6 separate regions of the Homo sapiens genome follow, and all the other regions are linked to region 3. The links are contacts of gene promoters, found by promoter capture Hi-C in human tissues and cell types (Jung and others, 2019). All regions are on one chromosome and are shown on one strand. Each heading gives the region's core, a stretch centred on a gene start or on the middle of the fragment in contact. The rest is flanking DNA. Distances are from core to core; before and after follow the strand shown.

Region 1 (2,877 bases), core at 200-2,699, 350 kb after region 3:
ATTCTTTCCAAGACGGTTTTGAAGACAGGAGAGTCATTGAGTTCCAAGAGAGGTTGAGGTAATCCTACAGGGAAATACGGGTCAAGAACATGATGCTCCACTGTCAGGAGTCTCAATTGGCCAACACTCTACAGCAGGAAGCTGTTGTTCAGGGGTGAAGATGTGTGCATGTCTGGTGCTGTACTGCAAAGCAGTTGGCTACGTGATTTGCTGCACTCTTTTGGTAGGAGAAGGTGAAAGCTACTTAAGGACCCAGGACTTTAGACCCGGGTACTCTTTTATCTGCTTTTTTTTTTCCCCCAGATGGAACCTGTACCAAAAAAAGTGACAACTCAAAAGTATTTTTCCATAAAGCTCTGGGGATGCTCCCACAATTAAGTTATGAAACCCCTTTTTTAAGCAAAATCTTACACAAAACACTAAGATGTGTAGCAGCTAAAAATGAAACCCACTTACCTTAGTATTAAAAACTGCCTTAAAATATCTATATTTTTAAGTGTAATCAGAGGTTTTACATTTCGAGTCCTATAGTCAGAAGCTATCTGTGGGAACTGTTTGTCCATTCTAGTATTTCTGGTTGGCCACTTATTTCTATAGCAGGAGTTCCTGACTTAACTTGAATAATGGCATGGGGGTGTGTGGTAAGCAACACCTACTTTTTATATTAATAGCTATACATTTCTTGGAATTTCTACTTTTACTGGTGTCTGCAACATAACCCTTAAATGGAATGGTGTCAAAGGAAAAGATTCAGGACTATCTAGGCTGAAACAGACAGACATGAGTTCTGGAAAGGCAAATTAACATCCTTCCTTTGGCTAACTTCACAGCTGAGGAATGCCATTGGATTGCTTGACCACAGCCGGGCTCAGACACAGGTTATAGCTGATGACAAAGACAAACTATGGGGGCTGTGATGGTGAGCCAGCCTGAAGCTTCTGAGATGGGAACAAGGTTTAGACAACTGATGCCTCTAGCTCTAACTTCATCCCACATTCCCAGACTAGCTCCCTGTGCTCCAGCCACATGATTCAACCATCTCTATGTTCTGGACATACCAAGGCCTTTTTCTCTTGCCTCAGATCTTATACCTGCCATTCTGTTTGTCCAGAATGCCCAGCATTTCCTCATGCCCCTAACCTAGCTAGTTCGTACTCATCCTTCAAGTCCCCATTGGGAGTCAGCCTTCTGACTTCCCTCTGAGACTGGGTTAGGTCTCCCGATAAACACTCAGAGCCCTGCCACTTTCCTTCACAGCAAATACCACAATTATGACTGCACAGTTATTTTCATGCTTATTTTCAATGGGAAAATGAATTAAAGCAGTATCCTAACAAGGTCACAACTGGAAGGCCAGGCGTGGTGGCTCATGCCTATAATCCTGGCACTTTGGGAGGCCAAGGCAGGCAGAGCACTTGAGGTCATGAGTTCGAGACCAGCCTAGCCAACATGGTGAAACCCTGTCTCTACTAAAAATACAAAAAATTAGCCGGGTGTGATGGTGCATGCCTGTAGTCCCAGCAGGCTGTGGGAGAATCACTTGAACCTGGAAGGCAGAGGTTGCAGTGAGCTGAGATTGCACCACTGTACACCAGCCTGGGTGACAGAGTGAGACTCTCTCAAGAAAACAAAACAAAACAAAAAAGGTAACAATTGGGAAATGGCTTAAAATCTATTCCTTTAAAAACTTTGATACCTATCTACACACACACACACACACACACACACACACACACACACACACACACACACGAGGAGGCAGGAAAGTATACAAATATCCTTCAGGTTAAAGGCCATGATTTATTTATAATTGAATGGCTGTAACACCCACCACAACCTACTGGCTAAATTGAAGAAGGGGTTAACGGGGAAAAAAAATAAATTGCCTTCGATTTTCTCTGTATGCTAAGATAATGAAGTAAATACACTTGTTCATATAGAGCTTATAGGAACTCCACATTCTGCATTTCTGAACAAATAGATGGTCAAGGCAGTGCAAGACAAGATGGAAGAAGCACAAGATAGGCTGAAGCTGCTCAAGGAACCCATAAGAACGCCTGTAATCACTAGGATTCTAGTGCTTTAAAGGCCATGGTGGGAGGACTGCTTGATGATAAGAGTTCAAGACCAGCCTGGGCAACATAGCAAGACTCTGTCTCAACAAAAAAATTTTAAAGTTCGTCTGGCGTTGTGATCTGCCTGTGGTCCAACTACTCGGGAGGCTGAGGCAGGAAGACTGCTTGAGTCCAAGAGTTTGAGCCTACAGTGAGCTATGGTTGCACCAGTGCACTCTAGCCTGGGTGACAGAGACTATGACTCTTAAAAAACAACAAAAAAAGGGGACATCCATTAGGGATAAGATAAACCTTAGGAGAAAAAAGGTTACATTTCTTACCTAATATAGCAGATTTTTCCGCGTCAAGCATATCCAGAGCCTTGGTGAAAGGCTCTGCCATTTTGGCTAGCATTTCTGGTGCATATAATGTATTGTGGGTTCTGAAAGAAACAAGAATGCTATTGAGCTTTTCCATCTGATGCAGAAGGAAAGAGTGGGTTTTGCTTGTAATCCAGTGATACTACAGTTTCACACAGATCTGCCCATCAACTCCTGGCAGGGGAAAGAAAAGAAGGTATAAATATCTGAATGCTCGCTGGAGGAGGGAACAGACTTGTATAGATATAATTATCTTAGTATACAATACCTAAGATAAATTAACATGAGAACTAAACCCCAAGACACAGGACAGTATCAGAGTCCAAAGCTAGAAAGCAAAATTCTTTTAAATCTGAGGTGGTCCCAGGAGTTTTTTGACCACCAGTGATACGGAATGAAATGTGTGCAACACTGTGGATTTACAGGTAGGAACACAGAGGAGG
Region 2 (2,728 bases), core at 123-2,622, 310 kb after region 3:
AGTGTGCAGCCCGTGCTGTTGACTGGCCCAGCTGTAGGCCAGGCACACACTGCCCCATTGTACTGTGCTTTCCGACGCAGCCCTTGTCATAGCCTCTAATCCTTGGGCTGCTTCTCTCCCAGCCCCTCAGAGCCTGTGGGAGGTGGTGGGATGGACTCTGCTGGCACTGGTGCGGGATGGGTTGCAGCTGCAGCTGTGGGTGGCTTTGTTCTTACAGCCTAGCTTTCAGAGTCCTGGTGCAGCCTGGCAGCAGTGTTTGGGGAACAGGCGAGATAGAGGAGCTGAGCCCCTTCTCCAACAGCCGTCCTCTCTTTCTGTTGACCAACCAGAGAGGCTTTTTGCCTGAGGTCAGCAAGCTGGCCTCCCTGGTTGGCAGGGGGAGTGCTTGGCTTCCATCTGGCATGGTTTCCGGATGGGAGAAAGCCCCTGAGGGTCTGGTGGTAAGTCTGCGATGCTTCCCATCAGGAGAGTGCAGTGTGCAGTGTGTCCCCTTGGGCATCCTGCAGCTTGCCATTCCTCTGCTTTCTCTCTGCAGCTCCGGAGTTGGGCTGCTCACAAACCAAGCTGTCTGTTTATATGGAGTGCCTGGAGGGCATCTGCCATGAGTCTGTCGCTAACTGCACTAACCAGGAGAGCTGGCTGGTTGGGGAGAAGACACTAACCCTGTGAGTCTGACCTCAGCCAGCTAACCTGCCCTGGGGTGCCACCAGCAGGGCCTCTGTCCTCCATCCTTCCCCGCAGCCTGGCTGCCTCCCTCCTTAGCTTATATCACGCCATCTCCTCTGCTCTCTTGTTCTTACTACTGCGTCCCTCTATTTTCCCAGTCTCCCTTTGCTGTGGGTGGGGATGTGCCCCCTTCACGGCCACCTGCCCATCACCAGCCTGCTGCTGGGCTCCACTGACCACCCCCCACCGTCACCCTTCCCCGAGTCAGCAGCGTGCTCTTCACTTCTCCCTTCATACAGAATTGGTTCGAGTTTCTGTTGAATCTGTGCTTTTAGCACAGAGTTTGAGAAGATCCCTCAATTACCATGCTGCTGCTGCTTCTCATGCCTCAGAGACAGATGAACTAGAGTGGGAAGGGACTTTTCTCCTAGATCAGATCATTTCCTCCCTTTATCAAGAAGGGAAGGTTGGATAGTGTCCCTGTTACTCTCACCCTAGGATAAGAAGTTAGGATCAGCTGCAAGGTTCTCTTTAGGATTGGGGAGGTAGAGGAAAACCTTGACCTGGTTCTGGGGAATTCCCTGGGCAGAAAAGTGAAGCTACTTAAACTGAATGCTGGGGCCCCAAACCAGGGACCCATGTGAGATGTCACTCCCATTGGTGACCGTTGCTCTGGGAGGTGAAGTTTGTCCCCCCCACCTCTTTTCACATCCGGAGTTTCTGGTGGACTTTAGCCATGAAAAGCTGGGAAGGGTGCCTCAGTAGAGTGGGGGCAGGACCTGGCTTCGGATTCCACACTGGGCTCAGAAAAAGTCCTGGCCTCAGACTGGGAGATGGGTGCGTGCAGCCTGGCTTGGAGAAGCTCCCACGCAGTCCCTTCTCCCTCCAGGCTTGGGAAGGAGAGGCGGGTCTGGAGATCATGAGAAAGTTGATTGCCTGTTGTTTCCTGGTGTTCCACACAGGTCACTCTAGATAGACTGTGGCTTCGGCTTCCGGAGGCAGTGTGGTGCTAGGGAGGCTGGACAGGGGGAGCTTGAGAACAGAAGGCTGCCTAAGTGGATTCTGTTCCCCTTGGGCTGGGTGAGAGAAGGCAGCAGCCTACCAGCACTGGGTGGGAGCTTGTAAATGGGAGAGGGTGTGTTATGGGCCCGGAGCGAGGAGGATAGCACTCCTGAGCGGGATGATGATTTCTCGGAGGTTGATAGATTAAGAGACCAAAGTTGGTGGGGGATATCCATGTTGACCAGAAATATCTGTTTGTTTTTTTGGGTTTTTTTTGAGACAGAGTTTCGCTCTTGTTGCCCAGGCTGGAGTGCAATGGCACGATCTCGGCTTTCTGCAACCTCCGCCTCCCAGGTTTAAGCGATTCTCTTACCTCAGCCTCCCGAGTAGCTGGGATTACAGGCATGCGCCACCACGCCCGGCTCATTTTGTATTTTTAGTAGAGACGGGGTTTCTCCATGTTAGTCAGGCTGGTCTCGAACTCCCGACCTCAGGTGATCTGCCCGCCTTGGCCTCCCAAAGTGTTGGGATTACAGGTATGAGCCACTGTGCCTGGCCCGATGAGAAATATCTTGATGAAAATGCACTACGTCCAATAAATGAATATATGTACTATGCAATATTAAGGATTTATAGTACTGATCAATATCCATGTGGAAATGAATTTTATTATATGATTAATAATAGTGAATGTATGATAGTTGATTAAGGAATAAACAATACCTATTTATATGCATGTGGATTGAGCTTATAATGTATTATATATGAGTGTACTATGTACAAATAAACATTTATAGTACTATATATTATTCATGGGGACTAGCAGTAATGCAGAGATGTTTAGGGACCCCAAATGGGGAGTTAACAAGCTGGAGGCTTTCTTGACTTGGCTCTGACCAGGAAAGCAAAAGGGCCTGGAGTTGAGGCCTGGTTGAGGGCCGGTCCTTCACTTTGGCCTTTCTTAGGAGAGGGCATGGGGTCTAATGTCAAATGCAGGCTATGACCTTGGGGATTTCTTGCCCTCTTTTTTTGCAGGGAGGGGTTGGTTTGCCTGGCTCTT
Region 3 (2,890 bases), core at 97-2,596:
GGGGATGATTTGCCGACATGTTTGAGAACCCCCTAACCTCTAACCCTCATTGCTGTCTTGCCCCAGTTTGGGGTGCCAAGATGGAAGTCACCTTTCTGGGCTTTCTCCTGGAGATAGCTGGGGCTTATGGGTGGCTTTCAAGGCTGGGGCATGGCAAATCAGGGGCCAGAGAGCAGGGGAGCTTGGGACTCAGGTCTGTAACTGCCCAGCCCCTTTTCTCTGCTCTTGTTTCACTCCACCATCACTCACTCACTCCCCACTCCCCCACCCATGGGGAGGAGACCTTTGATGAATTCTTCCTCTCCTTCCCACAAAAGACAGACCCAGTGAGTGAATCAGGCAAAGTGCTTATAATGTGTGTTGTGTGAGCGTGGCCTTGGGAGGACATGCGTGTGTCAGGGATGAGTTGAGGTGATATTTTTATGTGCAGCGACCCTTGGTGTTTCCCTTCCTCGGTGGCTCTGGGGTATGTGTGTGTGGGTGTGTGCGCCTGAGTGAGTGTGTGTGCTTGAATGTGAGTGTGTATGTCAGTGGTTTCTACTTCCCCTGGGATGCTGACCCAGGAATAGTGGACATGGTCACAGTCCTATGTACAGAGCTTTCTTTTGTATTAAAAAAAAATACTCTTTCAATAAATGTATCATTTTTGTGCACAGACTGTGGGGTCTTTGGTTCTGTTTTTCTACTTAGGGAGGGATGGGGGTATGAACGCGAGGCAAACTCCTAAAATTGCTGCTCTGAGTAGCGATCCGGGCTGCTTGATGAGAACGGTAATGCTAAGGTGTGCTTTGGGCTGTTTAATTCTATACGATTTAATTTAAGGAAAGTTTTGCGGGGCCGAGGACCTTCTCCCTGTGCGTGGCTTCGCTAGGTGTTAAGGCCAACGCAGAGGAGCAAATTTTAATTAACAGGAAAAGTGACACAACTAATCCAAAGCATTGCTGAAGGGTTTGGGAAACTCATGGGCACCTGACCTACTGAAAAGTCAAAAAGGGCAGCCTTAAGGTGGGAATGTGGGTTACCATGTTTCGTCAGCATGATCGCTGTGATGGGAGAGGGAGGATTAGGAGGGCCGACCCAGTGAAGAGGAGGGGGCTTCACAGTTGACTGGATGGAAACGGCTTCTTCCTGCTGCTGAGAGAGGAGCAACGTGACCTCGATCCCAGGCTCCTCCGGTAGCGCGCCCCCACGCCCCTCTTCCAGTGCAGCCGCCCGCGGTAGCACGCATGCTCCACTCGCGCGCTGTTCCGCCACGCTCGGCGTGGGCCGCGGTGGGACCCGTAGGTGCCCGGCCGTGCGTGCACTCGCCGTGTGACCCGGAAGGGAGCTCTGAGGAGGCGGGGCCAGGACGGCGGGACCGGCCGCTGGGTCCCAGCGAGGGCTGAGCCGGGCGGTGGGAGGTGAGAGGAGAGTTCTGCGCCGACCCAATCCCTCCCCTTCTCCTGTCCCCTCCCCGGTCCTTTAGCCACTGTCCATGGGGCTGACGAAGGGAACCAGGTCTTGCTCTCTGAGATTCACTGGATCTTTTCAGCTTTTTTGGACCGCGCCCCCAACCATCCTTCCCCCTCCCCCCAAACCCGTTCCCTCTGCGGTGCTGGCCTCCTCCACCTCCCCACGGCTCTGCAAGCTTGGGCTTGACCTTGCTATCTGCTGGTCTCATCCATGCGTCCAGAGCTCACCCCCACACCTCAGTTTATTGTTGCTCTTCTAGGCCGACGTTACACCTCCTACCTCCTCCTATCCGATTCTTTTACTTCCCCCTGCTGCTAATCAGTTGCCCGCTGGCACATCGCTGGCTACCATCCAGGCTTGCCCCCCATCCTAAGTGGACCCCTACCTCCATTGAGGTCCACATCCATCTTTCTCCCTCCTCTTCACCTCTACTCTCATCTTCTGTCCCTGTACCCCAACATGACCCCTGCCCTGACCACTATATCTTCATCTGGGTTTACCTTCTTCCATTCTTATTCTCACTATTCCCTGTTGCCCCTGCACTGCTTCATATCACGCATATCTTTCCTGATTATTCCACTCCCATTTATAATCGGTCTTAATAACTTTGCATTTATTTGATGACTCCCCTACCTTCTCCATCTAAGAATAATAACAGATTATGTTTACTGAACACTCTTTATGTGCTAGATGCTGTTCCAAGTGCTTTACATACATGATCCTACTAAATTCATGAAGTAACTATGAATATTACTACCATCTTGCAGAAGAGGAAACAAGCTCAGAGGTTAAGTAACTTGTTCCAAACTATGCAGACAGTGAGACAGAAAGCCAGAATTCAGAGTCACATTTATCTGATACTGAAGTCTCTGAATATTGCTTCTCTCCTGACCTCATTTCCTACCTTTAACCCCATGATTACCACCTCTATCTTATCTACTTAACTTACTTAAATCCTTACCATACATGCAGTATAAGGGCAGGGTGGGACCTGGTCATCTTTCCCATAATTTTATCTGGTCCCTAGGGCCCTCCCCCTTTCACAAGACTCGAATATACTTTTCCTATCCAGTCATTTGCCCCAACATCCCAGCCTTTTGTCATCTCCATTCTCTATATCTGCCATGGCCCACCCTTTACATCCACCTTGCAGCTTTACTCTGTCATTTATGCTCCCTGTCCTGCCCCTCCGCTATCCTACTTTTCCTCACATGTTCTGATCCCACTGCCTCACATGCTGCTGTCCTTCCTGTCCACCCATGTCATTCTTCTAAGTCCTAATCTGTAACCCTCAGCCACCCTGCTATCCTGCCTAAACTGTCTTGCTTAACTGTCACTCTGTTTATTGTTACTTTGCCTATTACTGTTTTAATTCTCTTTTTGTAAACTCCCCTTCCTTCCTTTCTTCCTTCCTTCCTTCCTTCCTTCCTTCCTTCCT
Region 4 (2,822 bases), core at 74-2,573, 330 kb before region 3:
AAATACAATTATTAAATTTTTGGTTTGTTTATAATCTAACCTGAAGGTACCAGGGAGGCATGAAGAGGCTTGGTTGGTATTTAAAATAATCTGTTAAAGCTTTAGAAATGAAATTAATGTTTTCATCTTTGTCATGTTTCACAGGCTCAGAAAAAATGTCTGAATCAGACTTCCCCCATTTCTGCTCCCAAGACCACAGACGGCCTGAGGCAAGCACAGATCCCTGGGCTCTTGAGCACCACACTGCCAGGTCAGGAGCTTCCTCAGTTTGTCCCTGTCCTCCCAACACCACGGGATGCTCTTCTCACTTTTCTCCCTCATTCTGCACGAAAGCTTTCTGGCTTAATCTCGTCTCCACTCCGATTATTCCTTTCTTTCTGTATCCTTTCCGCAAATAATATACTGTGTTGCATCAACTCTAAGATAGCATTGGGCCGGGCACGGTGGCTCACGCCTGTAATGCCAGCACTTTGGGAGGCCAAGGAGAGTGGATCACCTGAGATCAGGAGTTCAAGACCAGCCCGACCAACATGATGAAACCCCATCTCTACTAAAAATACAAAAATTAGCCAGGCATGGTGGCACACGCCCGTAATCCCAGCTACTCAGGAGGCTGAGGCAGGAGAATCGCTTGAACCCGGGAGGCAGAGCTTGCAGTGAGCTGAGATCACACCACTGCATTCCAGTCTGGGTGACAGGGCGAGACTCTGTCTCAAAAAAAAAAAAAAAAAACCCCACTAAGATAGCATCAATTGTAAGATGTACTATCATTTTTTATACTACCAAAAAGAAAAACAAGCACTTCTATCTAAATTATGACACATTAAATTATGTGGAAAAAAAATACTTCTTAGAAACAATAAATTGAGGCCGGGCACGGTGGCTCACACCTGTAATCCCAGCACTTTGGGAGGCCGAGGCGGGCAGATCATGAGGTCAGGAGATCAAGACCAGCCTGGCCAACATGGTGAAACCCTGTCTGTACTAGCTGGGCATTGTCCTAGCTACCCAGGAGGCTGAGGCAGGAGGATCACCTGAGCCTGGGAGGTCGAGGCTGCAGTGAGCTATGATTGCGCCACTGCACTCCAGCCTGGGCGACAGAACAAGACCTTGTCTCAAAAAAAAAAAAAAAAAAGAAAAGGTATTTTACAGTACTTGTGACTTTGAAATTATCCCCATGTTGCTCTCTACATGCATGTTTGGAATTCTCCACCCAGACTGAAAATATTATGGACTATGTCTTCCGTTTTTTCTAAGGCTTTGAACATCTGCAGTACCCAATTAGTACTTAAAAAAAAAAAGGCAAGAAAGAGAAAAAGCTTGAATATTCCCAGTCAATTGCCTCTTTGGGCCTCCCTTTCCTTAAATTGTATTTTGGGATTCTGTAGTGCTGACAGATTACTGGCTTGAGGCCTGTTTTTCAGACTATAAATAATTTGAAACTATAGCATTTGGAGCTTCTATTTATTACTATTTACTTATTTATTACTTAAATAGGCTTTAATAACCTCTTCCTTTAGAGCTTGTAAGTAAATGCACTACCCTGCCCTCCTTCTTCACAGCAAGCAGCCATGATAAAGAAACCCGTTTCAGAATGCTCAACAGTCTGTACCCATTGGGTTCTAGGGTTATATGATGGACCCAATTTACTGTTTCTTTTGAACACTGTCTCATGTATTAATTCTAATAGGGCAGGATTCTGGAAGCAAAGTTATATCCGCATCCTTAGGAACCGCACAACCACAGCAGGAAAAAGTAGTTGGATCATCTCCTGGCCATCCAGCTGTGCAGGTAGAAAACTATTGGCATAGCCTCTTCCTAATGTTCGGCATAATTGAATGAAAATGTAGTCGTGCTATCTTTGTGGTTGCTGGCTAGCTTTGTGTGCACAGTCCACCCAGTCCCCTGTGTGCCCACAACAGGGTGGTCATTGAAGACCTTCCTGGTGGGCTGGGCCTTGTTATGTTTATGTTTCTGAGATGAATGTCTATTCTATTTCTGACATGTTTACAGTGCTTCATTAATCCATCATTTCCTCATGAATTAGTAATATACCAGCAGCTAGTACATACTAGGCACTCAAAAAATGTCATTTACTACTAGGTGATATCGTTCACTATTATATCAAAGCGAATCTCTTCTTCTTAGTTATACTGAGGGATTTTTGTTTTTCTGTAGTAGTAACCAGGCGTATAGGAAGTAGGCCATCCCTACGGTCTTTTGACCCAACTTTGACACTTTTTAAAGTCCAACTTTTTGGTTTTTGTTTGAGACAGGGTCTCACTCTGTCACCCAGGCTGGCATGCAGTAGTGCAATCACAGCTTACTGCAGCCTTGACCTCCCAGGCTCAGGTGACCCTCCTGCCTCAGCCTTCTGGGTAGCTAGGACAATGCCCAGCTGTTTTTTTGTATTTTTTGTAGAGATAGGATTTTGCCATGTTGCTCACACCTGTCTCAAACTCCTGGGCCCAAGCCATCCACCCACCTCAGCCTCCCAAAGTACCTGGATTACAGGTGTGAGCCACTGTGCCCTGTCTAGTCCAGCTGGGTTTTTTGTTTTGTTTTTGTTTTTGTTTTTGTTTTGTTTTGAGTTGGGGTCTCACCCTGTCACTCAGACTGTGCTGCAGTGGTGTGATCACAGCTCACTGAAGCCTCGATCACCTGGGCTCATGCGATCCTCCCACCTCAGCTTCCTGAGTAGCTGGGACTACAGGCACGCACCACCACGCCTGGCTAATATTTTTATATTTTTTTTAAGAGAAAACGTTTTGCCATGTTGGCCAGGCTGGTCTGAAACTCCTGGGCTCAAGCAATTCTCCCAC
Region 5 (2,700 bases), core at 136-2,635, 290 kb before region 3:
ACGAGGCCATACCTCAGGCTGTCTCAGTGGGGAGAAACCTTGGACAATACCTGGCTTTCCTGGGCAGAGGTCCCTGTGGCTTTCTGCAGTGCATTGTGCCCCTGGTTAATCGAGAATGGAGAATGGCGATGACTTTTACCAAGCATACTGCCTGTAAACATTTTGTTAACAAGGCACATCCTGCACAGCCCTAGATCCCTTAAACCTTGATTCCATACAACACATATTTCCGTGAGCACAAGGTTGGGGCTAAAGTTACATATTAACAGCATCTCAAGGCAAAACAATTGTTCAGGGTACAGATCAAAATGGAGTTTCTTATGTCTTCCTTTTCTATGTAGACACAGTAACAGTCGGATCTCTCTTTTCCCTACATATCCCCCTTTTTGACAAAACTGCCATCGTCGTTATGGCCCGTTCTTGCTGGTCGCTGTCTCTTCGGAGCTGGTGGATACACCTGTGGACTAACAACAGACAGAACAGGCATACAAGGATTAATATGAAATTTACAATAGTGGAACTTCTGATGGTTTTTAACCAAGTGACAGTGTTAAGATTTGTGAGGCCATCAGTAGCTTTCACGATTGCCTCAGTTCCCAAATTTAAATGGGCTTTCGATGCCTCAAAATTTTGTTATTTTAATTTTGAAATATCTAAAGTAAGATTATCTTCTCTTCCCTGTAGATGGCATCTAACCATGTCCCAGTGATGCTCAGACTCATTATAGGCTTGGGGTGTAATACAAAAATCTGACATATTCCAGTCACACTGTAACTGAAAAAGATATTCCAAGCTCATGAGCCTATTTCCCAGCCAAATGACAGTTTGTCTAAGATCATTAATTTCGTTTGCCAATTTTTGATTTATTTGGGTCTGAGAATTCCACAATTTTGAGGAATTCTTTCGCCAATCATTTACATATTCTGCAGTTTGAACAGAGGAGTGTAAAGCAATTCCAGCAGCTGCAGCAGTAGCTGTGACTGCAATAAGGCCCATAATCACTGCAATCAAAGTAAAAATCTTTTGGATCTAGTTAGAATTCCTTTTAATACTTCCGTTAAAATATGGAAGATGGCGAAGCCTCCCACTGTCGGTCCATGGACACAGGGATCCGCACACCTTCTCTTGCCCTCACTAGCAGAATATGGCGCTGCCAATTAAAAGTCAAATCAATGCAAGTAAACAATCTACAGTTTTCACAGGTTATAGTTTGGGAATCTGGTTTAATAACTATGTTTTCTATAACTAGCATATAAGGGGGTTTTACACAACTTTGTAAAGGAATTGTCAGATTGGAATTTAGGTTGATAGTATAATATGGCTTACGATTTCTTGTTTCTGTAGCTTGATTTCCAGACCAAATTCTAATGTAGTGCGAGGCCACAGTAAGCTTCCATAATTTTGGATGTTTAGGACCAGTAACAGGACTAACTAACTTTGGTCGAGGTGATGAAATTCCCTTTTCACCCCATTTCCAGGGATAGGGTGATTCTAGCCTTCTATAAACCTGGTCCAGCCTTTCAATTAAATCACTATCATAGGCCGGATTAATGGGCCAGATGGATGGGGCCTGTAAACATGAGTGAGTCTGGCCCATACAATTATATATAATATAATTGTATATAATATAATATAATATATAACTATTATATAATATTATAGTAGTTCCAAATTCATTGTTTTGTAATACCACCGCAGTATTAGCCACACATTCTTCCCAAACTAAGGCTTCTGGGCTTTTTGATTCTTTGGGAATTTCCTTGGGGCAAGGCTTCCCCTTAGGCCCAGATTTTAATGATCTTTGATAAGAAGCGTCCTCTAAATTATTTATCTGTGGCCCGAGTGACATTCCACTTACCATGTGATAAGTAAATTTACTGGTGGCACTGACGGTAGGTACTTCTACCAACCAGTTTTGGGTTGTAGGCATTAAACATCCTGGTGCCTTCCCTAGGCAAATAGGAGGATAATGATACCCAGTGGAAACATTTATCATCATTCCTTCTTCTTTAGGTTGGGCAGGGCAACAATCGTCTGTGGGGCCTGGTACCCATGCCCTATTATTAACATATACTTCAACAGGATTATCCATCCATGTGACTGCCCAAATTAAGGGTGGGAAAGGCACATAGGCACAGTAAGTATAATTAGTTGCAGCTGCTCCTGCAGACATGGGGAGACTTACTACCGTTGATATAATAATCAAAGCTGTAAGCAGTATATTCTCTGGAGTTCACATTACCCTTGTGTTCTTTAGGCTTTTTTTAGCTAACTGTGTCAGCTTCTTTAATTGGGCCCAAGTCGGTGGCTCCGCTTCCTTGGTGGATGGCAACTTCATCTGTTCTTCTGATATCACCATTTTATTTACCTGGCGAGTCGATGATGCTCAATTGAGGGTTTTTTGTCTCCGCAGAGGCGCTTTTCTTCGCATCTCCAAGGGGTTCATTGTAGAACTTTAAATTTCTAGTGGGTATCCAACCAGGAAGCTGATTTTCTCCTTGTGAAACACAAGCAAAGCCTCTCTCCCATGTTATCACCTTCCCTATTTCCCATGTCTTATTTTTCTTGTCTTTCCACCAAATCAGTTTTCCTTCATGTGGGCTATTCTTTTTACCAGTAAAATGTTGTTCTGCAGAAGTAGTGGTTTGATTTCTATAAATGTTTAAAAAATTTAAAGTATAGAGTGCTAGATTAAGTTGC
Region 6 (2,700 bases), core at 171-2,670, 490 kb before region 3:
GGCTGTTAGAGGTTTTTTTTTTTTCTTTTTTTTTTTATGGCAAGACTTTTGGCTTTGAGAAAACTCACTTAGAGGGCTTTCCAAAAACTTAGGATGGTCTAAAAAATTAGGATATTCTTTTAGAATTAGGAAGAAAAATTAGGATATTCTAAAAGAATATGGATTAAAAATTTAGGATATTCTTTTAGATATCCTAATATCTAGATGAGAGGCCTTCCTTCATAAGATCTGGTTGTTTGGGCTGTGGTTGGCATAAGTGATATTTATTTTGGCCTCTGTCACATCCAGTTTCTTGAGCTTTTAAGGTAAGCTTCTTTTGGCTTTTTTTCAGATGTTCACCAAGCTTAAGTTTAAAATAATAGGTATTCTAAAAGAGTATCCTAATTTTCTTATCTGTATTCTTTTAGAATACCCTAATGTTTCAGACAGTGATATTCTCTTGTTATTTCTAAGGCTAAATTGGCAGAGTATATCATCTAAAGCCAAACACTGAAGAAGGTGAGAACCCACTCCCACCCAGCCAGCATTTCCTGGAACAGACAAGCTGCTGCTTCCTTGCTGGCTCACTTAGTGCATTCCTGGGATGGTCTGGCACCCAGGCTTTTTATTCTTTTTGATCATTGTTCTTACTGAGGTGCCTTCCTAGAACAAGAGCCACTTACAAAATAGCTTATAATTATTATGTACCACACAACTACTATTGTTTGATGTATGACTGCTGAGAGCTTGAATACATGCAGAGAGTGACTGAAGACTTAGTAGAGGAATAAATTCTGAGCCTGTCTAAGGTGGGGCTAAGGAACAGATGAGTAATAAGAGGCTCTTGGATTTTTTTAACCAATGCAACTGACCCTTTCAATCAGTTTTCTTTGAATTACATCTACAAGTTTTGTTCCACTCAGCTACCAGTCAACTAGGCATGCTCCACAGTATCACAGGAAGAAGGTCAGAAATCTGGAACTGAAGCTAAAAGAAGTGAGGATGTAGAAGCCACATTCCTCTCCAAGGTAGTGTGTGAAAGAACCGCCCCCTCTTGACAGGAGGATGACCGTCGCCATTCTTGCGTGGGACTGACTCACCCAGCTGAGAGGAGGACCAATAGAAAGAAAATTCACATTTGAGTCCACCTCTCTCCCCCTTTTTCTGGCCTTCATTCATAAGATCTGGTTGTTTGGGCTGTAGGTGGCATAATTCATGTTTATTTTGGCCTCTGTCACATCCAGTTTCTTTAGCTTTTAAGGTAAGCTTCTTTTGGCTTTTTTTCATATGTTCACCAAGCTAAAATTTAAAATAATAAGACCAGGTTTCTCTCTGTACAAGTGGATTATAAACATTTTCACCAAATCATAACAATACTCCAGCTTTCCGGTCCGACTTCCTAGGAGCCTGGAGTTAGCAAAGGTTGTCTCTGGATTTCATTCTCTGAGAATATCACAGAGCCTGGGAGAAGATGAATTTACATGAAATTGCAACATACACACCTTTTTATTTTCTGGTGTTAAGCTAGTTGTCTTTCCTACCTTACAAATCATGTTAGTTTTATGATTTGTTCCGCATGTTTTATGTTTATTGTAGAAATGTTTATATAACATACGCTTTCCATATCAGGGAAAATCATATCTGTTTAATAAATTGGCTATAACTTTAATATCTGTGGACAACTTGTAAAATTTGGAATGTATCATATGTAAAAAGTTTAAAGATATCCAAATAAATGCTTTAGGTGTTGGCATTACTTTTGGTTAGCATATATCTTTCTGTTTCATTTTACACATTTACCTGCCACAGCAAGGTGCCCGTGTCACCTTGCTACAAATATAGTGGGATATCTGTATTAGCTTTAAATTTAAGAGGGTTATATTATTATGGCCACTAGCCAAACTATCTTGACCTTCTCAGAGAAAGTGTGATCATCATTTCAGCTGATTAAGTTTCATATTCATTAGCCATGACAGCGTGTGACCTTTGTGGACCATTTTGGAACTCAAATCACTGGGAAACAGGGCACTCCAAGACCTGTGTCTGGGTTTAAACTCTTGTTCATCCTTACCTGGTGATCTCAAGGTCCTTGTCCTTACACACTCCCCTAGTGTGCTGGCTGGTTTTTCAGGGCTGTTGGAGGTTTTTTTTTTCTTTTTTTTATGACCACTTCCTGCTTTTGAGAGAGAGACATAGAAAGGCAGCTACACTGTCTTCCTAGGGGAGTCATTGCCCATGAGAATTCTGTTTTTTTTGAAATCCTCTTGAGAGCATCAAACTAAAACAGCAAGGTTTCCATTGCACTCACCCTGCCTCCTGGTCAGTAACACTGCTCCCAGCCTACTGCCTTCACCACTCTTGTCTTTAGTTCCAGGAACTCATGAAGCCCCTTCTGACATGCTCCTCCCTGTCTTCCTACTCTTGATTTTGGTGTGGTGGTGGTTTGGTTTGGTTTTTTTAAAGAGACAGGGTCTTGCTTTGTCCCACAGGCTGGAGTGCAGTGGCACAGCCTTGGTTCACTGCAGCCTCAACCTTCTGGGCTCGAGCAATCCTCCCACCTCAGCCTCCCAGTAGCTGGTACTATAGAGGCACATGCCACCACACCTGGCTAATTTTTGTATTTTTTTTGTAGATACAGCCGCGCTATGTTGCCCAGGCTGGTCTTGAACCCTTGGGCTCAAATGATTCTCCCGCCTCAGCCTCCCAAATGCTAGGATTATA

Evidence for each region. The method cuts DNA at HindIII sites, captures the fragments that hold promoters and counts their contacts. A contact is called where the count stands out against the background at its distance.
Region 1: a fragment that was not itself captured here is called in contact with the fragment with the promoter of CUL9 in region 3 in 1 of the 25 tissues and cell types used here (mesenchymal stem cells).
Region 2: a fragment that was not itself captured here is called in contact with the fragment with the promoter of CUL9 in region 3 in 1 of the 25 tissues and cell types used here (lymphoblastoid cells).
Region 4: a contact is called between a fragment that was not itself captured here and the fragment with the promoter of CUL9 in region 3, in 1 of the 25 tissues and cell types used here (spleen).
Region 5: a fragment that was not itself captured here is called in contact with the fragment with the promoter of CUL9 in region 3 in 1 of the 25 tissues and cell types used here (dorsolateral prefrontal cortex).
Region 6: a fragment that was not itself captured here is called in contact with the fragment with the promoter of CUL9 in region 3 in 2 of the 25 tissues and cell types used here (lymphoblastoid cells and spleen).

Annotation. Positions count from the first base shown.
Region 1 is chr6:43,531,512-43,534,388 of GRCh38, forward strand. It overlaps XPO5 (exportin 5), which reads right to left. Exons shown (of 32, transcript NM_020750.3): 21 at 2,396-2,496; 22 at 1-64. It also overlaps a transcript of POLR1C not described here. Among named protein-coding and RNA genes, the nearest start is that of POLR1C, 16 kb to the left of the region's middle. RefSeq lists a silencer at 1,791-1,991. The HindIII fragment of the contact is 3,986 bases long and covers 1-2,877 here.
Region 2 is chr6:43,489,364-43,492,091 of GRCh38, forward strand. All of the region lies in intron 2 of TJAP1 (tight junction associated protein 1), which reads left to right. Among named protein-coding and RNA genes, the nearest start is that of TJAP1, 13 kb to the left of the region's middle. RefSeq lists enhancers at 280-873, 874-1,468. The HindIII fragment of the contact is 8,583 bases long and covers 1-2,728 here.
Region 3 is chr6:43,180,850-43,183,739 of GRCh38, forward strand. CUL9 (cullin 9) reads left to right here and starts at 1,347. Exons shown (of 41, transcript NM_015089.4): 1 at 1,347-1,400. SRF (serum response factor) reads left to right here. Exons shown (of 7, transcript NM_003131.4): 7 at 1-657. RefSeq lists an enhancer at 1,018-1,087 and silencers at 1,338-1,477, 1,498-1,547. The HindIII fragment of the contact is 4,480 bases long and covers 1-2,692 here.
Region 4 is chr6:42,851,948-42,854,769 of GRCh38, forward strand. BICRAL (BICRA like chromatin remodeling complex associated protein) reads left to right here. Exons shown (of 13, transcript NM_001393499.1): 7 at 145-250; 8 at 1,691-1,791. Among named protein-coding and RNA genes, the nearest start is that of RPL7L1, 26 kb to the right of the region's middle. The HindIII fragment of the contact is 4,425 bases long and covers 1-2,822 here.
Region 5 is chr6:42,894,292-42,896,991 of GRCh38, forward strand. No RefSeq gene overlaps it. Among named protein-coding and RNA genes, the nearest start is that of PEX39, 4.8 kb to the left of the region's middle. The HindIII fragment of the contact is 6,847 bases long and covers 1-2,700 here.
Region 6 is chr6:42,691,771-42,694,470 of GRCh38, forward strand. It overlaps UBR2 (ubiquitin protein ligase E3 component n-recognin 2), which reads left to right. Exons shown (of 47, transcript NM_001363705.2): 47 at 1-1,735. Among named protein-coding and RNA genes, the nearest start is that of PRPH2, 29 kb to the right of the region's middle. The HindIII fragment of the contact is 3,806 bases long and covers 1-2,700 here.